Regions from separate parts of the Homo sapiens genome. Here all the other regions are linked to region 6. The links are contacts of gene promoters, found by promoter capture Hi-C in blood cells and fetal thymus (Javierre and others, 2016). All regions are on one chromosome and are shown on one strand. The core of a region is centred on a gene start or on the middle of the fragment in contact, and the rest is flanking DNA. Distances in the headings are between cores, read along the strand shown.

Region 1 (3,692 bases), core at 89-2,588, 1.9 Mb after region 6:
AAAGACTTCTTGGGCCTGGCACAGTGGCTCACACCTGTAATCCCAGCACTTTGGGAGGCCAAGGTGGGAGGATGACTTGAGCCCAGGAGTTCAAGACCAGCCTGGGCAACATAGCAAGACCCTGTCTCTATTTAAAAAATAATAATTTATACTAAAAAAGAAAAGAAAAATACTTCTTGAATGTTTGTTATATACAAGGAACCATTGCAAGTGTTGGGGATATAGCAGTGAGCAAAAGTGACATCCCTGCCCTCACAGAGTTTATATTCTAATAGCAAAAGAGGAGTGTAATAAATAAGTTAGTCTTAAATGGTGGTAAGTGCTATGTAGAGAAATCAAGAGGTTAAGAAGTACTGAAGGTGTAGGAAGGGGGGTTGTGGTTTTAAAGAGATGGGTCAGGAAAGGCCTCCCTGAGAAGGTGATCTCTGAGCAAAGACCTAAGAAGGAAAAGGGTGAAGCCATGCAGCATGGGGGAAAAGAGATCTAGGTAGAGGAATCAGCAAATCCAAGTGCCCTAAGGGGAGATAGCGCCTGGTATGTTCCAGAAAGAGCAAGGAGGTCGCTGTGACAGGAATAGAATGAGCACTGAGGTCAAAAGAAATGGCTTTCAGATGGAATGGGGCTCCATAGGTCTTTGGAAAGTCAGAGGCTTTTCCTTAGAGTGAGATGGCAAGTCGTTGGAGGGTTCTGAGTAGAAGATTAGGACTTGGGGCTCCTGTGTTGACAATGGACTTAAGGAGGCCAGCTTCGAAGCCGGGAGACCAGTTAAGAGGCCCCTGCCATACAGCAAGAAGTTGGTGGTGGTGACCTGGACCAGGGTGGGGGTGGTAGTGGTAGCAGCAGAGGTCAGGAGGAGTGAGATTCTGCCTGTCTTGTGTAGATAATGCTAATGGCGGGCATATAAGAAAGAAGTGTCAAGGATGATACAAGATTTAAGTTTAAAAAAAAAATTAAGTTCAGTACAATTTGAATGTTAGGAAGAGTGAGAAATGTTAGTTTTTAATTTGAAAATGATCCTCTTACAGGAAGTGTCTCTAACTAGAATAATAATAATGGGTGTTTGGTAATTCCAAACACCCATTTCCAACAGGCCAAATAAAATACGTTATATATTAGTAAAATTTTTATTTCTTTTTTTTTTTGGAGACAGTCTTGCTCTGTTGCCCAGGCTGGAGTGCAATGGCATGATCTCAGCTCACTGCAACCTCCGCCTCCTGGGTTCACCGGGTTCAAGTGATTCTCCTGCCTCAGCCTCCTGAGTATCTGGGATTACAGGCACCCACTACCACGCCCAGCTAATTTTTGTATTTCTAGTAGAGATGGGGTTTCACCATGTTGGCCAGGCTGGTCTCGAGCTCCTGATCTCAGGTGATCCGCCCGCCTTGGCCTCCCAAAGTGCTGGGATTGCACACGAGCCACCGCGCCCGGCCATAGTAAAAATCTGTAAGTTTTTCAATTAAGTCACAAATCAAAAACATTTCAGATTATGGGCCGGGCACAGTGGCTCACGCCTGTAATCCCAGCACTTTGGGAGGCCGAGGCGGTCGGATCACGAGGTCAGGAGTTTGAGACCAGCCTGACCAACATGGTGAAACCCCGTCTCTACTAAAAATACAAAAATTAGCCGGGCGTGGTGCCGTGTGCCTGTAGTCCCAGCTACTCAGGAGGCTGAGGCAGGAGAATCGCTTGATCCCAGAAGGCAGAGGTTGCAGTGAGCTGAGATCACACCATTGCACTCCGGCCTGGGTGCCAGACTGAGACTCTGTCTCAAAAAAAGAAAAAAAAAAGAAACCAAAAATGTTTTAGATTATGTGCCAAGATGTTTTTAATAACAGCTTTGAGGTATAATCCACATACCATACAATGTACTTAAATTGTATATTATAATTCAGTGATTTTTAGAATATTCAGAGTTGTGCAATCATCACTGCAATCAATTTTAGAACATTTTTATCACCCCTTTAAAATCCCATTAGCAGTCAATCCCCTTTCACCCCATGGTCCAAATTCTCCCCAGCCGCAACTACAAATCTACTTTTCGGCTAGGCAAGGTGGCGCACACCTATAATTCCAGCACTTTGGGAGCCCAAGGTGGGAGGACTACTTGAGCCCAGGAGTTCAAGAACAGCTTGGGCAACATAGAGAGACTCTACCTCTTAAAAAAAAAAAAAAAATTATTTATTTATTTATTTATTTATTTTATTTTTTATTTTATTTTATTTTATTTTTTGAGATGGAGTCTCACTCTGTCACCCAGGCTGGAGTGCAGTGACGTGATCTCAGGTCACTGCAACCTCCACCTCCCGGATTCAAGCAATTCTCCTGCCTCAGCCTCCCGAGTAGCTGAGATTACAGGTGCCCACCACCACACCCAGCTAATTTTTGTATTTTTAGTAGAGACGGGGTTTCACCATATTGGCCAGGCTGGTCTCAAACTCCTGACCTCGTGATCCGCCGGTCTTGGCACCCAAAGTGCTGGGATTACAGGAGTGATCCACCGCACCCGGCCTAAAAAAAAATTTTATTGTTTAAGTTAGCTGGGTGTGGTGGCTCACATCTGTAGTCCCAGCTACTCCGGAGGCTCAGGTGGGAGGATCACCTGAGCCTAGGAAGTTGGGGCTGCAGTGAGCCATGATCATGTTACTGCACTCCAGCCTAGGTGAAAGAGGGAGACCCTGTCTCAAAAAACCATACAAACCCCAAATCTACTTTTTACCTATTCTGGATATTTCATAAAAACGGAACCGTAGCTCTGGTCTTTTGTGACTTGCTTCTTTGACTTAACATAATGTTTTCAAGGTTTATTGCCAAATAATATTCCATTGTATGCCTATATACTACATTTTATTTACCCATTCATAAGTTGATGGCCATTTGTATTTTTTTTTTCACTTTTTGGCTATTATAAGTAATGCTGCTATAAACAGTTGTGTAGTTTTTGTATAAATGTGTTTTCATTTCTTTTGGGCAAATACCCAGTAATAAAATTGCTGAGTTGTATGAACTCTGTTAAACTGAGGGGCCGGGTGCAGTGGCTCATGTCTGTTATCCCAACACTTTGGGAGGCCGAGGTGGGAGGATTGCTTGGGCCCAGGAGTTCAAGACCAGCCTGAGCAACATGGCAAACCTTAAAAAAAAAAAAAAAAAAAAAAATTAGCCAAGCACGATGGCACGTCTATGGTCCCAGCTACTTGGGAGACTAAGGTAGGAGAATTGCTTGAGCCCAGGGCGTTGAGGCTGCGTTGAGCTATGATCACACCACTGCACTCCAGCCCAGGTGACAGTGAGGCCCTGTCTCAAAAAACAAAAAATCAATTGAGGAACTACCAGACTATTTTCCAAAGAGGCTGTACCGTCTTGCATGCCCACAAGCAGTGTCTGAGGGTTCTAGTTCCTCTAGATTCTCACCAATACTTTTTGCTATATATTTTTTTTTATTATACCATCCTGTTGGCTATGAAGTGGTTTTGATTTGCATTTCCCTAATGACTAATATTGAGCATCTTTTCATGTGCTTATTGGCCATTTTTATATCTTCTTTGGAGAAATGTCTATTCAGATTCTTTGCCCATTGTGCTAGATTTTTTTACTCAGAAAAACGATCACTTTACCTTCTAGATGTGTTACAGAGATAGGCAGCCCTGCTTGTAAACCTTCGTCAGGATCCAGAGTGCATAATACCTCTATTAGGT
Region 2 (3,368 bases), core at 106-2,605, 1.4 Mb before region 6:
ATTCAGAAGAAATGACAAAATTCCCATAATGAAGCCCTTAAACAAAGCAAGCTTCTGAGATGTAGCCTGAGAATGTGAATGAAAGTGTGGCTCACTAGCAGTTGGTTATGAGGGATAAGGATGCTTCACACATACAGTAAATACGTAATTACAGAGTAGGGTAAATGCTGTGGAGGAAAGTGGTGATTTGGGATATAACAGGTTGAACTCATCACGGATCAAATCAAAATCAAATTTGCAGAAATAACCCTTATTTTATGTGTCACATGCCTCATAATAAATCCTTTCAGTATGAAAAAGAACAGGATGGGCAGACACTGAGACCTGGCCTGTTTGTATTTTGCCACATTTGGCTGAGGCCAAAAGAGGCCAAGAGCTTCCACAAATCACATTTTCTAAAATCAAGGACCCTGGCTGTTGTGCCCCACCCCAGCTCCTTCAAGGAGAGGACAGTTTATCATTGTGAAGAATGGTCCAGAGAGCCAGAGATCAGGGTGTGTGCAGCCATTTGCCTGCTAAAAGTCAGGACTTTGTCTCTATAGCCCTTGCCTAATGACCAGCGCATGACAAGAGCTTCTCCCAGGATGAACTTGGTATCTTCTGCAGACAATGTAAAGATTAAGAGCTTGGCCTCTCAAAACAGACTCCATGGGTTACAATTCTGATTTACTCTGTTCTACTTAGAGGTAGGACCAGGTGCAAGTCACTTCACTAAGCCTCCATTGCCTCACCCACCCAGTGGGGACGAGATTACCTAGTTTACAGATACGATGACACAAAGTAGAAAGCACAGTGTCTGATGCTTTAAAGTGCTCAGACACAGAAAGGTGTCTCTATCATTATTCTCATCATTTCTTGTTTGGATATCTTAATCAAGTTATGTAAGAGTTCTGTGTCTCACTGTTATTCCCATGTTACAGATGAGTTTAACAGTAAGTACCTCGGGAGGCTGCGGTGAGGACTGAATGGACTAATACACAGAAAGTGCTTTGGTATCTAGAACAGTGCTAGGTATGGAGTAAATGTTTAATACAATGTTAGCGACTTTTAAAATTGTTTCAATTACTTTGTATTGGGTCATTTTGGCTTTAAATGTTTAAAATAGTTTACAACTTTTTTTGCAGCTTTTAAAAACGTTATCCTAAACAGAAACTTGAATTTCACGTTAGCAATACGCAAGTACATTCAATTCACATCTCATAACTTGACTTGCAAATACGATAAAAGGCATTGCTTCTATTTTCATATAGCAATATTTTCCTTCAATTAGCATTTAATGAAGGAGAGTAGGGTAGCACTCTATGGAGACCTGGGAGGAATCTGTAAGAAATGGGAAGTGTCAAACCAGCTAATACAACCAGAGGACCCACAATGTGACAGGTACTATGAGAAACTCAGGACACAGAGCAGAGTCTTGAAAAAATGTATCATGTATGTGGAAATTAAAACAATGCAATTGAGACATCTGAGAAAAAGAATTTATACAAATTCCACACTAATTACAACCAGACAGAATTTTTTTTTTTTTTGAGTCAGGGTCTCACTCCAGTTGCCCAGGCTGGAGTGCAATGGCACGATCACAGCTCACTGCGGCCTCGAACTCCTGGGCTCAAGCGACCCTCCCAGTTCAGCCTCCCAAATAGCTGGGACTACAGACACACGCCACCATGCCCAGCTATTTTTTTGTACAGATAGAATTTTTGACAGAAGAAACATTTTGATGAACTAAAAATCTAAAGCTGAAAGAAAAAATATTTAAATAACTGAAAAGTCCGTTGTAAAGAAAGTAATATATATGGAAAACATAAAAATGGAGAAGGTGGCCAGTACCTTCTCAGCAAAAATAATGAGATTGAAGTTTGGGAATGACCCATATGTCATGCAGCGGCTGCTGCTGAAGACTCAGCACATGTGTGAAATAAAGTATACCTGAACATAGCCCAGAGAAGCAGCACTGTGGTTTCTGTGGGAGCAGCTTCAGATGCGCTCACACAGTGGGATACTGTACAATGCTTAAAACAGTTAGGTGGAGCCATATGTGTTTCAACACAAGTAATGAGAGCTATCGAGATGGAGACAGACAGACAGATATATTACAAGTTTAAATTCCTGGCTCTATAGAATTTCTCAAAGAGGTTCCCTACAGCACCCCAAAGAGACTCATCAAGATTGTGTCTTTAAAAATACCCAGTCCCGGCCAGGTGTGGTGGCTCATACCTGTAATCCCAGCACTTTGGGAGGCCAAGGCGGGTGGATGGCTTGAGGTCAGGAGTTCGAGACCAGCCTGGCCAACATGGCAGAATCCCATCTCTACTAAAAATATAAATAATTAGCCAGGTATGGTGGTTCATACCTGTAATGCCAGGAACTGAGAGGCTGAGGCACAAGAATTGCTTGAACCGAGGAGGCGGAGGTTGCAGTGAGCTGAGATTGCGCCACTGCACTCCAGCCTGGGTGATGGAGTAAGACTGTCTCAAAAAAAAAAAAAAAAAAAAAAAAAAAAGGAAAAGAAAAGAAAAATAAAGAGAAAAAAGTTTCAAAATAAATAAATATAAATAAAAGTAGACAGTCCTGGGCTCCACCACAGGAGATGAACGTGAGTCCCAAGAATCTGCCTTCCAACCAATCTCCCTGGTGTTACTGTGCAGATCAAAGCTTAGGAATCCTAGGGGAGAGGCTTACATTCCCCTTTGAGGGAAATCTCCTATTTGGAAGGGAGACTGGGAATGGGAATCAGCCTCTTATGAAATGAAGAGGTTTGTAATCTGTGTATCTAAGCAAACCAAAAACATCTCCAAGAAAATGAGAAAAGGAGTTGCTGTAAACAAAGTTGCATCTCTAAAGAATGTGTCTAAGTGGAAAAATGTTTATCTTCTCCATGCACTACACTGTCCTGTGCCAGGAGTCAGTCTCCTTTATTTGAGGGGGTGAAGCTGGTAGGAATGCACGTATTACTGGTACATTATAATATATTCAAGAGAAATTCAAGTAGAAAGCAGGGATATACCTAACCCCTGGACACTGGAACCACCAGTTTCACCATCTTTGTTTTGTTAAGAAATGACTTTTTCAACTTTATTTTTGAAATCATTCTAAAACAAAATTGGCTTTTTTCTCACTTTTGGTGCACAGTTCTATAATGTTAACACATTTACAGATTTGTGTTTACACCATCACAATCGGGACACAGAGGGGTCTGTCTATCCCCAAAGGATCACGCGCTCCCAGGCCCCCACTTCCTTCCTCTGCAAACCACCGTTCTATTCTCTATCACTATCATTTTGTCTTTCGGGGAATGTTTTCTAAACGGAATCACACAGTATATAACTTTTAGAGACAGGCTTCTTTCACTCAGCACGTTACCTTTG
Region 3 (3,413 bases), core at 144-2,643, 1.3 Mb before region 6:
TTATCCTGTAGGCTTCACTTTCTTGAACAAAAGAATGGACCTAACAGAAAATGAGTCCTATTCTCTAATTATTCAGAAAGACTTCTTATAAAATCTCTTTGGAAATCAACATCAGCATTGAATTGTCCTAATGATGATTCTATGTATCAAGTTCTTTTCTTTCAAATACCTAAACATGTATTTAACACAAGCTGATTAGCTGGAAATGTTCACAGGTAGTAAGTTGTTCAAAGATCGACTTTTATGGATGTTGTACCTTTATTGGGTGGGAACTTTTATGGCCAAAATGAACATCTGGTAGTGGTTGCTTCTGAAAAGTTAAAATTATTAGAGGCTTGGAGTTAACTCTTAAGAGACTGAGTCTGCCATTCATTAGATGGGTAAAGAAGAACCAAATTTACTTCTTCAGATGAAGGTTAACTTTGCCCAAGATTACTATCTCAGTACCAACATTTTTGTCTGACGATCTGAATTTCATTCAGTTAATTGCTTAAAACTTCCCCTAGGCCAGGGGAGAGGTTCATACTGTAGAGAATTTCTGTGGCCCCAAATCACATTTATTGAATTGTTCTCTAGTGTGTTGTCATTGGCAATAGTGGGGGGTATCTTAAGAATCTACCTTGGGAAATACGTTGTTGAACATACATTTGGCATGTTGGTCGGGGTCATTGTTTTTTAAAATTACACTGCCTGTTTTAAGATGATCCAAGGTAGAAGTTATCACTCATCTCAGATACAAAAATCTTGAGCTTTTCCACAACAAATGGTTTGTTTGCATCTTATGGGTTCTGCAAATAACACAGTTGAATTTGTTTTCCTCTCTAATTGAGCCACTAGAATGCACAGAGTGGCTCACCTCTGGCAAGTATTCAGAAATGCTTATTTGTGCATTGCACATTACAGTTATCTGTTTTTCTACCTGTATTTTCCAAAATGAGAGATGAAACTAGGGGAATTTTCAGGACAAGAATATTTAGATAACAATCAATTCTCCATGCAAAATAAGAAGTACATTCATTGATGTATTCATTCACATAATTAGCATGTATTCATCATCTACAACCAGGACCACAAACTAGGGTGCCTACATGGGTGAGACTGGTGAAATAGAGATTGACTGTGGTCACATATAAGAAGATAGAGACTGTGGCAAATAGCAGAGAGTAGGCCCACCTAAAGACATTCAAATTTACTTATTGTTAACCCTGTGCTGGCTAAAAAATACAGGTGGCCGAAAGCCTGGCAACCAGTTTGAATCCCCTGATCCATATATTAAGCTCTGTGATAAACTCTGTGGATATAACACAAATATGATAGCTTCTGCCCTCCAATGGCTCACATTTTCGCTAGATGTGTAAACAGATAAACACAATAGAGTGTCAGAGTGAAGAGGCCTTGATAGTAGCACCTGCAGAGCCCAGCAAGTGGTGTAAAAAACCAGGTAGAAAATACACCAGAGAATCAGCAGAAACCGGGACCCCAGTCAGTCCCAAGTGATGAAAAAAGGGAGTCTTCATGGGTGAAACCTGGCTTACACAATTGAGATAAGTACAGACTCAACTGGCAGACAAAGATCAGTTCAATAAATGAAGCCAGCCATCTAGCAGTATTTCCATAATCTTAATCAGAAAATCAAAATATAGACAAATGTGGAGAAATAATAACTATGTCTATGGCTGAGGACATTAACAAATTTTGGACTTGACGTCTCCAGTCTGTCTTTGTGACTGGTTGGGATGTATAATTTGCATAAGTTTTCATTCATCCAGTCTCCCATTACTGCCTCTAATGATAACCTACAAAGAAAGTACAACATCACTAATTAATGGATTGAAAAGTAGTCAGGAAATAGACAAGGTCTTATTAAGTGCATAAGGACATTTGCAAACCAACCTGGTAGGCACCTGCCTGCTTTACTGATTTTTTTTTAGGCACGTCTTTGTAGTGACAATTGTTGCCACTTCCTGAAAAAATCCAAAGTAGAAAATAAGACAGTAAGTAATCTGACCTTAAGACTAAGTTAATTTCTTAATTTCTTAATTTCCAGTATGTGCTAAAGTTTTTCATTTTTCCTACTGAGAAATACCCAACTATAATGAAAAATTACACATTCTCTAAAGGGCTTGTTCTTTTAAAAAGTAAACTTTGATTAGGTTGAACTTCTATTCAGCTGACTTTAAAATGGAGAAGAATAAGGAAAACCTAATTCAGTCAGCACAAAAATATATTTTAGATATTTTAAAGGGAAAGGAGTAGCTTCATTTGTTAATATCAGACATCTTCTCAGTTGTAGTTTAGAACTTTCTACAGTGACCTTTGCATCCACCTTCAGTGTGGGCTGTGACCTGCCTCCTTATCCCTGATGGTTTTTGGTGAAAGTGAGCCCTACTTCATTACTTTGCAAAATGTAGTTCTATTCCAGCACCTCTCATCTGAAAACCCTGGCTTTATATTTCAAACTATGTGTACTGCTTTCATACACATTCATTGGCAAAATATGCTCAAGGAATCCACAAAACTATGAACAGAATCCTGGCTATGTGTTCATACAGCAGATTAAACTATTCTGGGTCTCTGTTAAGTTTTGTGTCTGTAATGCCTCGTTTCTGAAAGACTATCTTCTCCAGCAATGAAAACCAATCACTTCTCTTGAGAACCAACCAAATCCCAACATCATATTGTTGCACCTGAACATATTATTCGTATTTTAGTACATCACTGAAATACAATTTTGTTAAGCAATATTTCTTTGAGAGCTGGAAGTAAAGTAACAAGGAGTAGGCTCAGAGATCCACATTTAAAATGCATGTGGACACATTATCCTGCTGGCTGCCCATGTTCTAGGTAGTTCTAAAGTGCACATTTTAGCAAGATGTGCTCAGGGAGGCTCGTGTCCTCTGCAAGATAGAAACTTCCATGGTCACTTAATGATGAAACATGGCAGGCGAATAAAAGGCAGAATTAGCAGCACCATGAAAAGTGTGACTGGAAGTCAGAAGGGTGGAAATTAAAAATGGAAAATCAAGTGATCAATGAACAGTGGGGGGAAGCAAGCTGGAATTTAAATTGGCAAGACAAAACTACTATGGACCATCAGGACAAGAAGACCAGAAAGTGTGAAGATAAATAAGGTAGACAAGTCAAAAAGAACGGTCTGATTATATAAGTAATGATGATAATGAGCCCAATATAATCAAAGTTTGTACTATCTATAGTTGTAATGTAAGTCAGACAAGAAAATTGATTTTTTTCTTTGGAATCACACTTTCCTCAAGGTGTGGCTGTCACTGCAGTTTTTTGAAATACAGCAATACTCTGCTTAATGAACTACCATTGTACCTTATCCCACTATATTATTCTCTGAGAAAATATAAAAACTCTTTAGCTCATTCCTATAAGTGCAACTCAGGTGA
Region 4 (3,221 bases), core at 61-2,560, 1.4 Mb before region 6:
CCTCCCTAGGCAGAGTATGAGTACTAATGGTGTGTTTTTATTCAGGTCCTGCAATCCCATGACCTGGACTAGGCTGGGTGGGGTGAAGGGGGTCCCCAGAGTGAACTGAGTGAGCATGGCCCAGGGAGAGTCCAGCATAGCCACAGAGTGTAGGAAGAAAATATTGGAACTTCCATTCACACTGACTTAATGTGTTCTTTTAATCTCTATTTTAGTGTATGCTGAATAATGTATATATATTATCAGCACCATAGTACATGTACATAATTTATAAGTAAATATGTAAACTTATATATTGGGTGTGTCTGCTCAAAAAGTACCTGCTTGATAGGGCGTATGATCAAAAGAATATGCAGAGAACAGTTCTAGAGCATCTGAATAATTAAATCCTTTAACCTGTTGGAAAACAAATAACAAAACTGCAATACCAGGAAAAGAATTTGTTTTCTCCCTTTAGGCAATAACTATTTTCAGAACTGTATCTCTCCTTTTAGAAAGAAGAATCAGGTAATGAACATAATGCAAACCAGACAAGATGAAATAGACAAGATTTTTTTGGTTTTTTGGTTTTTAGTTTTTTAAGGCAAGCGTGATTTAAATAGGGTTTTCGGTAACTACCATTGTCACCTCTACTAAATGGTGTTTCTCTTGGGAAAATTCATTAACTATTAATTTCAATAAAGGATCTCATCTGTCTCAAGTCACTCTTACATTTACAAACTACACCATGCATGCACCACTTCCTTTTTACTTACTCTGGCACATTCAAATAATTTGCATTTTCAGAAGTAGACACAGATGCTTTTTTGTGGACCCAGGTGATGGGGCAGAGGCAGGATAAAAAGATTTGCATGTCCTTTGAGAGAGGAGTCACTCATAATTAGAAAAGAAATTCAAACTCACAATATAGAAATAAATCTGTTTACCATAACCTGGGCTTAGAGAAATCTGGATAACTGAAGCATTCATTTAGTTGTGACATTATTAAGTAACCAAGGAATTAGAAACCCTCCTGGGATTTGAGCACATAAATGTTCAATATGTGGCCAGGCACAGTGGCTCACACCTGTAATCCCAGCACTTTGGGAGGACGAGACAGGCAGGTTACTTGAGGTCAGGGGTTCGAGACCAGCCTGGCCTACATGGTAAAACCTCATCTCTACTAAAAAAAAAAAAAAAAAAAAATGACATGGTGGCAGGTGCTGTACTCAGGAGGCTGACACAAGAGAATTGCTTGAACTCAGGAGATGGAGGTTGCAGTGAGCCCTGAGAAGATCGCACCACTGCACCCCAGCCTGGGCGGCAGAGCATGATTCCATCTTAAAAAAGAAAATGGGCCAGGCACGGTGGCTCACGCCTGTAATCCTGACACTTTGGGAGGCCGAGGAGGGCAGATCACAAGGTTAAGAGTTCAAGACCAGCCTGGCCAACATGGTAAAACCCCGTCTCTACTAAAAATACAAAAATTAGCTGGGCATGGTGGCACACACCTGTAATCCCAGCTACTCAGGAAGCTGAGGCAGGAGAATCGCTCGAACCTAGGAGGCAGAGACTGCATTGGGCCGAGATCATGCCGCTGCACTCCAGCCTGGGTGACAGAGCAAGACTCCGTCTCAAAAAAAAAAAAAAAAAAAAAAAAAAAAAAAAAAACAACAAAGAAAATGACAACAAATATTTTTAAAATGTGATAGTTCTGAAAAAGCCCAAACAATTTTTCTTTGTAATGCTACCAGGGCATTGTAGGGAACATACACCACTGTTACCACACGCAAAATATATGGGAGATAAGGTTGAATTTTGTCTAATCTAGCATCTACCCTCAAAATTCCTCCTTTCAATGGATGCTAGGAATCTGCTTTCAAAGCCTGACTTGGCTTCTTACAAATTCATCAACTCAGTGGTCAAATCAGACAAGGGTCCTGCCTTTGGGAAGCTAGTGTTCCCATGAGGATATATATGTTTGAAGAGGGATGAAGCCATCCCACAGAGGATGAGGGAGCATGTGAGCAGAGACTTAAGTGACAAGAATGAGAAACACTATTTGAGAAAGAGGATTCCAAAAATAGGAATGGATCCATGCAAAGCCCCAAAGCCAGAACATGTTCCTTGCTTCTAACAGCAAAGAGGTCAACAGAGCCAGATCTGCCTGATCTATCAGTGACAGAATAAGATGATGTCAGAGAAGGGATGAGGGCCAGCAAAGACTTGAGGTTTTATTTTAAGTGAATTGGGAAGTCAGGGAGGAGAGGAGGTGAAGGTTGGTCAGAGGATTGATTGATTTGATTTGTCATGGATTTTCAAAGGATCATAGTGTCTGCTGTGTGGAATATGTTCCACGCAGGACGAGTCCAAGGAAGAAGACCAGTGGAAGGAAGGAGAAGTATCAAAGGTTCTTTGATTTATGATTTGTTTCTTCATTTTTAGCTTCCTGGTTATTCAGATTTCAGCATTGCTGGAAATACAAAACTATACACCGTATCTCACATTAACCACTGCCTGTTGGGTCCACTCAGGAAAGAGGAACATGGGCAAGTTGTGCTTCTTTTCAGAAAGGTCCCTTACTTCTCTAAGTCTCTTGCTCACAGAAAAGACCCAATTCTTGTGATGGTCTGCCTTCCTGATACTCACTCATGACATCAAAATAGCCTCTCAATTTAAACAACATCATGCAAAGTTTTGCAGCTATGTACTGAGACTGGCTATCTGAAAGGAGTCCCATATTTTGTAGGAGAACAGCTTAAGGACAAAGTTTAGTATATCATCAATAAAAGTTGTTATTCATCCAACAGACATGGGGAGGAGGGTGGTATATTTTATTCCTACTACAGGTTGAGTATCCCTTATTCAAAATGCTTGGGACCAGAGTATTTCTGATTTCAGATTTTTGTAGATTTTGGAACATTTGCATATACATAATGAGATGTCTTGGGGACAGGACCCAAGTCTAAACACTAAATTAATGTTTCATACACACCTTATATACATAGCCTAAAGGTAATTTTATACAATATTTCAATAATTTTGCACATGAAACAAAGTTTCGGCTGCATTTTGACTGTGACCCATCACACAGGGTCAGGTGTGGAATTTTCCACCTGTGTCATTATGTCTGCACTCAAAAGCTTTTGGATTTTGCAACATTTTGTAGTTCAGGTTTTTGCATTTGGGATTTTCAGCCTACAGATGTCAAGAAAATTCTGAGCACCAAAATGGAGCTGTGA
Region 5 (3,413 bases), core at 654-3,153, 2.0 Mb after region 6:
GCAGCAGTAGGCTTCCTCTGGAGAATCAGACAGACGAGGGCAAAAGAAACCAGGGTAGTGACGGCCATGGACATCCCGGGTGGTCTGGCACAAGTGAGGGTGGTGGACCAGAGCTGAAGAGAGAGGTGGGGGTGCTAGAGACAAGCAGGAGGGGCCTTTCCACAGCTCACTCCACCCCTACTGGAGAGTAAAAGAGATCAGCCCCTACCAGAAGAAAAGATGCCCTTCCACCCATCCCCATCAGTTCCAGTTCCCAGGAATAGCCCATAGCACCAGAGGCAGGTGGGCCACAGGGGTAAGTGCTGTACCTGAGAGAGAGGTTGGCTGGACAAGGGTCACCCAGCTGAAGAGCAGCAGTAGCCCCACAGATAGGCCTGTCAGCAAGGGGCCTGACCTTCTCTGGATGCCCATGAGAGTTCACTACCACCTCTGTCCTGGTCCTGGGAACCCCAACATCTCTCTTTCTAGGCCGTGACTGCAGACAATAAGGAAATAAAAGTCAAAGCCCCAAGGCCCTTGGGCACCATTAATACGAGCCTGAAGCTTCTCTATCACAGGCTTTTAGAGAGAGATGACAGGGACTGGGTTTCTGTCTCCTGTTGGAAAACGTGGGGCCTGCATTGCCAAACTGCTGAAGGAGAGAAGGCTCAAAGGACTAGAGGACAGAATGAGGGATGAGAGAGCAGCTGAGCCATTAGTATGAAGAACAAACAAGCATTTACAGCCAAATATGTTTCTACCCATTCTCCAACTTCCAGGCTGCCATGGAAGCTCTGGGAATTCTGACCCTCCTATTTCAGGTCCCAGAGACCTCAGTTCCAGCATGTGGGGCTTCCCTCCCTAACCTCTGCTACGTGGCAACCACCAAGACTAGCTGAAAACCAAGGGTGACTCCTTTCATTAGCCTTTCCCCTGAGCCTTATCTGCCCCAGCTACCAGCCAGAACACAAAAGCTACATGTCTGATTAGAGTATACTTAGCTAATAGGGAACCCCCTCTCACAGAGAAGTTCTATGGGGATCACCAGGTCTCTCTTACCCCTCAGCTGCCCCTAAGGCAGGGAATTTCTCCAGAAGGCCACCAGCCAGCAGAATTAAGTGTTATTCCAGTGCCTACCCAGGCCTGACAACATCATGCTCCCAGGACAGCAGTGACAACACTCATCACCCCAGGGGCCCACAGAAGATGCCTAGAGACTGAAATAGGAGCTCTCATAGCATAAGAAGACAAGGCAAATTTCATCTGCAACACTGAGGACAAACAAAGGCAGTTCCTGCAGAAACGTCACAGCTACCTGGGAGCCTAAGTCTGAAGCAATTAGGCAGGGCTCCCAGGGAAGGCTCTGATTTTTCAGGTCAGGCCCTAGGGTCTCCTGGAGGGTCCAAAGGTAGACTCCCCTGCCCACAGAACCTGGCCCATCCCTACAGGGAGAACTATTTTTAGAACACTTGGAGAATTTTCAGAGCTTTTACAGGTTGAAGATGGTTCTTGGGGGGAGCTTCTGGGAGAAGCTGTCTCTGACTCTGAGGGTGTGGGGATTGTTCTTTCTTCCCGCTCCCATAGTCCCCTGAGCCTTGGCCACCCTGGATTCAGAGCACTGTGAGGCCACTGCCTTATTTCTTGTCTGTCTTCCTCTTTTCCACAGACTGTGGGCTCCCAAAGAGCCAGGCTTATGTTCTTCTTGCACCCCCAACAGAGCACACTGAGCTGGGGGCTGCGATGCTGAAGGCAGCTGTCCACATCACTTGCTCTCTGCGCGGGCCGGTCAGCTCCAGAGGAATTCATCTGGGGCAGGCCCAACTCGGCCCGCTGAATTAGCCTCCACGATCCCCGGGCCTCCCCGGCGCCAGGGGGCGCTGTAAACGTTCCGTCCCTGCCCCTGCGGCCGCAGTCGTCGGCCCCATCCGCGCGATGGGCTCTGAGGCGGCGCAGCTGCTGGAGGCTGCCGACTTCGCGGCTCGCAAGCACCGGCAGCAGCGGCGGAAGGACCCCGAGGGGACCCCCTACATCAACCACCCCATCGGTGGGCGCGTCGGCCGCGGAGCGCCGGCTGCGGCACCTGGGTGGTGGGGACTGGGAAGGAAACGTGGGGGGCGTGCACCTCATTGAGCACCTGTTTTGTCCCAAGCTTAGTGCGATATACCGTTTAAGCCTCATAACAATTGGAACGGTAGGCATGATCGTTCCCTTTGTCGGTTGGCTCCCAGAGGGTAAGGTACTTGACCAAGGTCACCCAGCTAGTCAGAGTCCACAAGGGGCCACATCTGGCTCTCCAAAACCCACAACACACCGCCTTGGGACTACCTCCGACCTGACTTCCTGCTTTGCCCCTCCCCGTCAGGTGTGGCACGGATCCTGACCCACGAGGCGGGAATCACTGACATTGTGGTGTTACAGGTAACTTTCCCCCTTCTCTGCCAGGAGCCTGGGATGGGGATTAGGGGCCCCATTCAGCAATGGGCAACCCTTGGCTGACATCTCAGGGCTGAGTGGGAACTTGTCCCCAGGCGGCCCTGCTCCATGACACGGTGGAGGACACAGACACCACCCTGGATGAGGTGGAGCTACACTTTGGGGCACAAGTGCGGCGCCTGGTGGAGGAGGTAACAGATGACAAGACTCTGCCCAAGCTGGAGAGAAAGAGGCTGCAGGTGGAGCAAGCGCCCCACAGTAGCCCCGGGGCCAAACTGGTGAAGCTGGCAGACAAGCTGTACAATCTGAGGGACCTGAATCGCTGCACCCCAGAGGGTACGCTTTCGTATGGGCTGTAAGGGAAAAGGGAGGGGGATGCCGCCTTCTGAAGACACATGTTGGTCAGTTCCCCTGAAAAACCCTGGGCATTCTTAATTCCCAAATTAATCCTACTGGACCACTCTTTGATCTTCTTTCATACAGTAAAAATACAATAGCTGGGCCAAGGGGAAGTTTTCAGGACAGCTCATTCCATCAGGAACTCATGGCCTTGAACCAAGCTTGCCAGGAAGTGGGGAAAAGGCAGTGCTTTCCTTGACATCACGCTAGCAAGTTTCTGTCGACTCTTATGCAGGATGGTCAGAACATCGAGTCCAGGAATACTTCGAGTGGGCAGCGCAGGTGGTGAAGGGGCTTCAGGGAACAAACCGGCAACTGGAAGAGGCTCTAAAGCATCTGTTCAAGCAGCGGGGGCTGACAATCTGATCAGTGCTTGAAGCTATCCAGAGGCACAACTCCAGCCTCGTTCAGGCCGGACAGGATTCATACGCCATCTTTTCTGTGTCTCCTGAGCTCCCTCCATCCTTCCCAGATATTAGAGGCCAAAAAAAGACTTGCATTTTTTCTCAGTCTGAAGGTCTCCTGCTAACTAAGCTGAGCCCCGCGTGGTGGGAATCAGATGTACCCATCCATTTCTGATGCACTCACCGCCTCTCCCCAAG
Region 6 (3,264 bases), core at 765-3,264:
CAGGTTAAACTGCTAACAATTATTTTGCATTTCACAATTCAAAGAGGATTCTAAAGAACTAGATTCAGAATATTCATTTAAAACCACTTTCAGTGTTCAAAAATTTCAGAAACATTGATTTGAAAAACCAAAATTGGTACTTAAGACAGATTCTGTAAAATCAAGATATGCGCAACTGATGTAACATGTACCACTATAGGAAGGCTACTCAAAAAATAAAACAATTTTACTGGAAAAATGCCCTTAGAAATATGGTCGAATAAACCAGTATCTGATTTCAGATGTACTATGTAAGTCTGCCCAACACTATTTTTACGTAGTTCTGCACCTTTACAACACAAGAGCTCCGCAGAATGAAGACAAATATATTCTAAAATACACAAAGGTTTGTGCGCTTCTGGTTTGTTCTTCAAACCACTACACTTAAAAATTACCCTTCCAACATTTTTCTAAGATTAGAGACTATACAGAGAACTCTACTAAATTTTATGAAACCTGTACTTTTAAAATACTGTTCCGTTTTAAGCATATCTAGATTTTTATACATGCAACAAATGCAACAAATATGGCTCCTCTTCATCGCCCATTACCGAGAGCAGTCCTACTTTATTCATATTTACATTACGAGAAAGTAACTTCAGGAAGAGATTTGGTGTCAGAATGTTCTTTTGTGAAAGTTTTTCGATCATGGCTTGTGATAATATAAATTCTTAAAAATAATTAAATTATGAACTTTTAAAGACTAGGAATTGACCCAAGTACGTTCTAACATTCAGGTGTGAGAAGTTGCAGATAACGGCTCCTTGAGACCTTTTTAAAAAGTACCAAACAGTGTATTTAATCATATTTAAATATCAGGAGATCAAATGATCTTGGCGTCATTACTCGGTAAAATAAACTACATTAACCAAACGTCATCAGCTAGCTAGCACCGTAATTATCAAATCTATTTCCATTAAACAGCCTTGACGACACAGTAAACTTGTCTTCGTAATTCTGAAATACCAGAAGCACTCCTCCAACTTGCATTTTTCAAAGACAACCTTAACGTCATAAAGGTTTAATAAGCAGCAAGTACCTTCGCATGTATCACTGCAGCCGTTTCAAAATCGGCTTTGAAAGAGTTAAAAGCCAACACCCAATAGGAGGGAAAAAAACAAGTTTTATTTTTGTTGAAACGTAGTCAGGGTTCCATTGTTCTTTTAAATTCGATCATGAAGATGAGTTCCCACCTCACCGGAAAGAGGTTAAAAAGCTCCTCCGTTGGAGAACCTGAAAGGGATTTTTTTACCCTAAATATCAAAATAACTCACCAGGACAGAAAGGGGCTCTCCACGCCCGATCCCCTTCGGGCTCTCGCCGGCATTCACCCGCCGCCCCTTTCCCGGCGGATCCAGTCCCGGCGACGAGGCTGCCCCCCGCCCACCTGCCGCCCGCGGGCTCTGCAGCGGGGCCCCGCGTGCCCCCTACCCCAGGACCCTACGACTCGGGCCCAGGGCACCGAGGCGCATCCCGCCGGCGAGAGCCGGCCCCCGACCACGGAGGGGCAGTGCGAGAAGAGCCGAGCGGCGAGGCCCGGCCCGCCGCCCCCTCCTGCTCGCGCGCTCAAGGACATTTTGCTTTTCCTCCCAAGGACAAAGGACAATAAAAGGAGCTAGGGAGCCACTCACCGGGTCCGAGCGCGGCCACCGGCACCTCCTGGTCGCCCAAACCCGAGTCCCGGGCCGGACCGCCCGCCCGAGCCTCCCGCCCGCGCCGGGTCCAGCCGCCGGGGCCCGGGGGAGCCTCCGAGGCGGCAACCGCAGCGGCGCTTTCGGCGTCGTGGGCCCGGCCGCCCTGGGCGCCTCTGCCGCGGGCTGTGACGCCGACGCGCGCGGCCCGCCTCGCCTCAGCCGCGGCAGCCCCACTCCCGCGGGCCTGCTGGCCGTCCGGGCGTAGCTCCCCGCCGGCCGGCGGGCCTCGCGGCCGCGGCGGAACGCCTGACAGCTCGGGGTGCTGCTGCCTCTCCGGCCATCTTGTGCCGTGTGTGTGGTGTCTCTCTCCCGTCTCCTCTCTAGGCTTTACTCCCTCCTCCTCCTCCCCCCGCCCCACACACCACACAACATGGCCTCTTCGCTGCGGCGGCAGCGGCTGCGGCGGCGGCAGGAGCTCCGCCGCGCTCCAGCCCGCTCCCCTCCCCCACCATCCCCGCCTCCCGCCCGCAGGCCCGGGGGCCAACGCGCACGCGCGCCGCCGCCCGCCCGCCGCGGCCATTGGCTCCACGAGCTTCCTGCATCCCCTATCCGGGAGCGGCCTCACGCACGTTAGCTGGCGTCTTCCTCCCTCCCAACAACAACTTCTTCCATTCTATTGGTTAATTTCAACACCACCCCTTCCGCCTCCTTCGTGCGGATAGGCTGGCCTTAGTGCCATTCACTGTCCGTAGGCGTTTCTGGTTTTCTTGAGAAGCCCCGGGCCACGATTGGCTGGTGATGGAACCTTTGGGGTTGGAGCTGAGCTGTTGCTTTTTTCCCCGCAGTGCGGACCCCTCCAGGCTAGCTGGAGGGTTCCTGGTATGGTCTAGGCCAGGCTAGAATGGTTAGTGCAGGGTCGCACAAATAGTGGATTCGCGTCTAGAAAAAGCTCTGGCTTCGGTGTTTCTAGGTTCAGATTTTGTCTTTAAAAAAAGGGAAAGAAAAAAATGACTGACAGGATGATGAGCAAACAAGATACAGGCCCACAGCCCTTGGGCAAGCAGCCATATCCTCAAAATATTTGTTCTAAGCACCCAGGCCTTCCATGAAGGTCACACAGTCAGGACCAATGGTTTTACCATCAGCACATTCCCTAGCCCCAGTATCCGAGTTGAGATGCGATTTATTTGTGGATTTGTAGACTGCCTGTTGCGCATTTACCTGAGAGCCTAAAAGAATGTCTAGTGTCTTGTGAGCTGTCGTCATGGAAATCAAAAAAAACAATTAAAAAGAATGTCCAGTGTCCTGAGGCCTTAGCGAATCAATCTCAATACCGGTTGACTGGATTCCACCCTGTAGGACAATGTTTGTTAGAGTAGCAGTTTGAACCTGAAAAATCATAGTCTACCTTTTCAACCTCCTTCCAGAGAACCAGGCAAAACAAGTTTCATTTGCTTTCGGCAAATCTCACTTTTTTTTCGTTACTTCTTCCTACTTTAACGTGGAAACAACTCTAAGAAGACCATAGGAAAAAAATGAAAACCTAAACTTTCCTGAAATGGATGGGGAAAAAAAAAAGAGGTAGCTCTCT

What was found. Contacts are between HindIII fragments. The CHiCAGO score rates a contact against its expected background, and 5 or more counts as called.
Region 1: a fragment that was not itself captured here is called in contact with the fragment with the promoter of CHASERR in region 6 in 1 of 17 cell types (fetal thymus); the score reaches 8.6 in fetal thymus.
Region 2: a contact is called between a fragment that was not itself captured here and the fragment with the promoter of CHASERR in region 6, in 1 of 17 cell types (M0 macrophages). The highest score is 6.2, in M0 macrophages.
Region 3: a fragment that was not itself captured here is called in contact with the fragment with the promoter of CHASERR in region 6 in 1 of 17 cell types (erythroblasts); the score reaches 5.6 in erythroblasts.
Region 4: a fragment that was not itself captured here is called in contact with the fragment with the promoter of CHASERR in region 6 in 1 of 17 cell types (erythroblasts); the score reaches 5.9 in erythroblasts.
Region 5: a contact is called between the fragment with the promoter of HDDC3 here and the fragment with the promoter of CHASERR in region 6, in 1 of 17 cell types (erythroblasts). The highest score is 9.2, in erythroblasts.

Annotation. Positions count from the first base shown.
Region 1 is chr15:90,988,874-90,992,565 of GRCh38, reverse strand. All of the region lies in intron 1 of PRC1 (protein regulator of cytokinesis 1), which reads left to right. Among named protein-coding and RNA genes, the nearest start is that of PRC1, 3.8 kb to the left of the region's middle. The HindIII fragment of the contact is 7,498 bases long and covers 1-3,692 here.
Region 2 is chr15:94,294,077-94,297,444 of GRCh38, reverse strand. The region is part of intron 1 of MCTP2 (multiple C2 and transmembrane domain containing 2); the gene reads right to left. Among named protein-coding and RNA genes, the nearest start is that of MCTP2, 64 kb to the right of the region's middle. The HindIII fragment of the contact is 2,604 bases long and covers 54-2,657 here.
Region 3 is chr15:94,224,917-94,228,329 of GRCh38, reverse strand. No RefSeq gene overlaps it. Among named protein-coding and RNA genes, the nearest start is that of MCTP2, 4.9 kb to the left of the region's middle. The HindIII fragment of the contact is 5,783 bases long and covers 1-3,413 here.
Region 4 is chr15:94,255,999-94,259,219 of GRCh38, reverse strand. All of the region lies in intron 1 of MCTP2 (multiple C2 and transmembrane domain containing 2), which reads right to left. Among named protein-coding and RNA genes, the nearest start is that of MCTP2, 26 kb to the right of the region's middle. The HindIII fragment of the contact is 3,628 bases long and covers 1-3,124 here.
Region 5 is chr15:90,931,039-90,934,451 of GRCh38, reverse strand. It overlaps HDDC3 (HD domain containing 3), which reads left to right and starts at 1,903. Exons shown (of 4, transcript NM_001286451.2): 1 at 1,903-2,023; 2 at 2,342-2,397; 3 at 2,508-2,748; 4 at 3,047-3,413. The coding sequence starts at 1,912. The coding sequence ends at 3,177. It also overlaps a transcript of UNC45A not described here. RefSeq lists enhancers at 1-81, 1,706-1,755, 2,506-2,735. The HindIII fragment of the contact is 1,585 bases long and covers 546-2,130 here.
Region 6 is chr15:92,881,593-92,884,856 of GRCh38, reverse strand. It overlaps CHASERR (CHD2 adjacent suppressive regulatory RNA), which reads right to left and starts at 2,014. Exons shown (of 6, transcript NR_037601.1): 1 at 1,671-2,014; 2 at 1,079-1,272. RefSeq lists silencers at 1,288-1,537, 2,158-2,287 and enhancers at 1,531-2,172, 2,598-2,687. The HindIII fragment of the contact is 7,161 bases long and covers 1-3,264 here.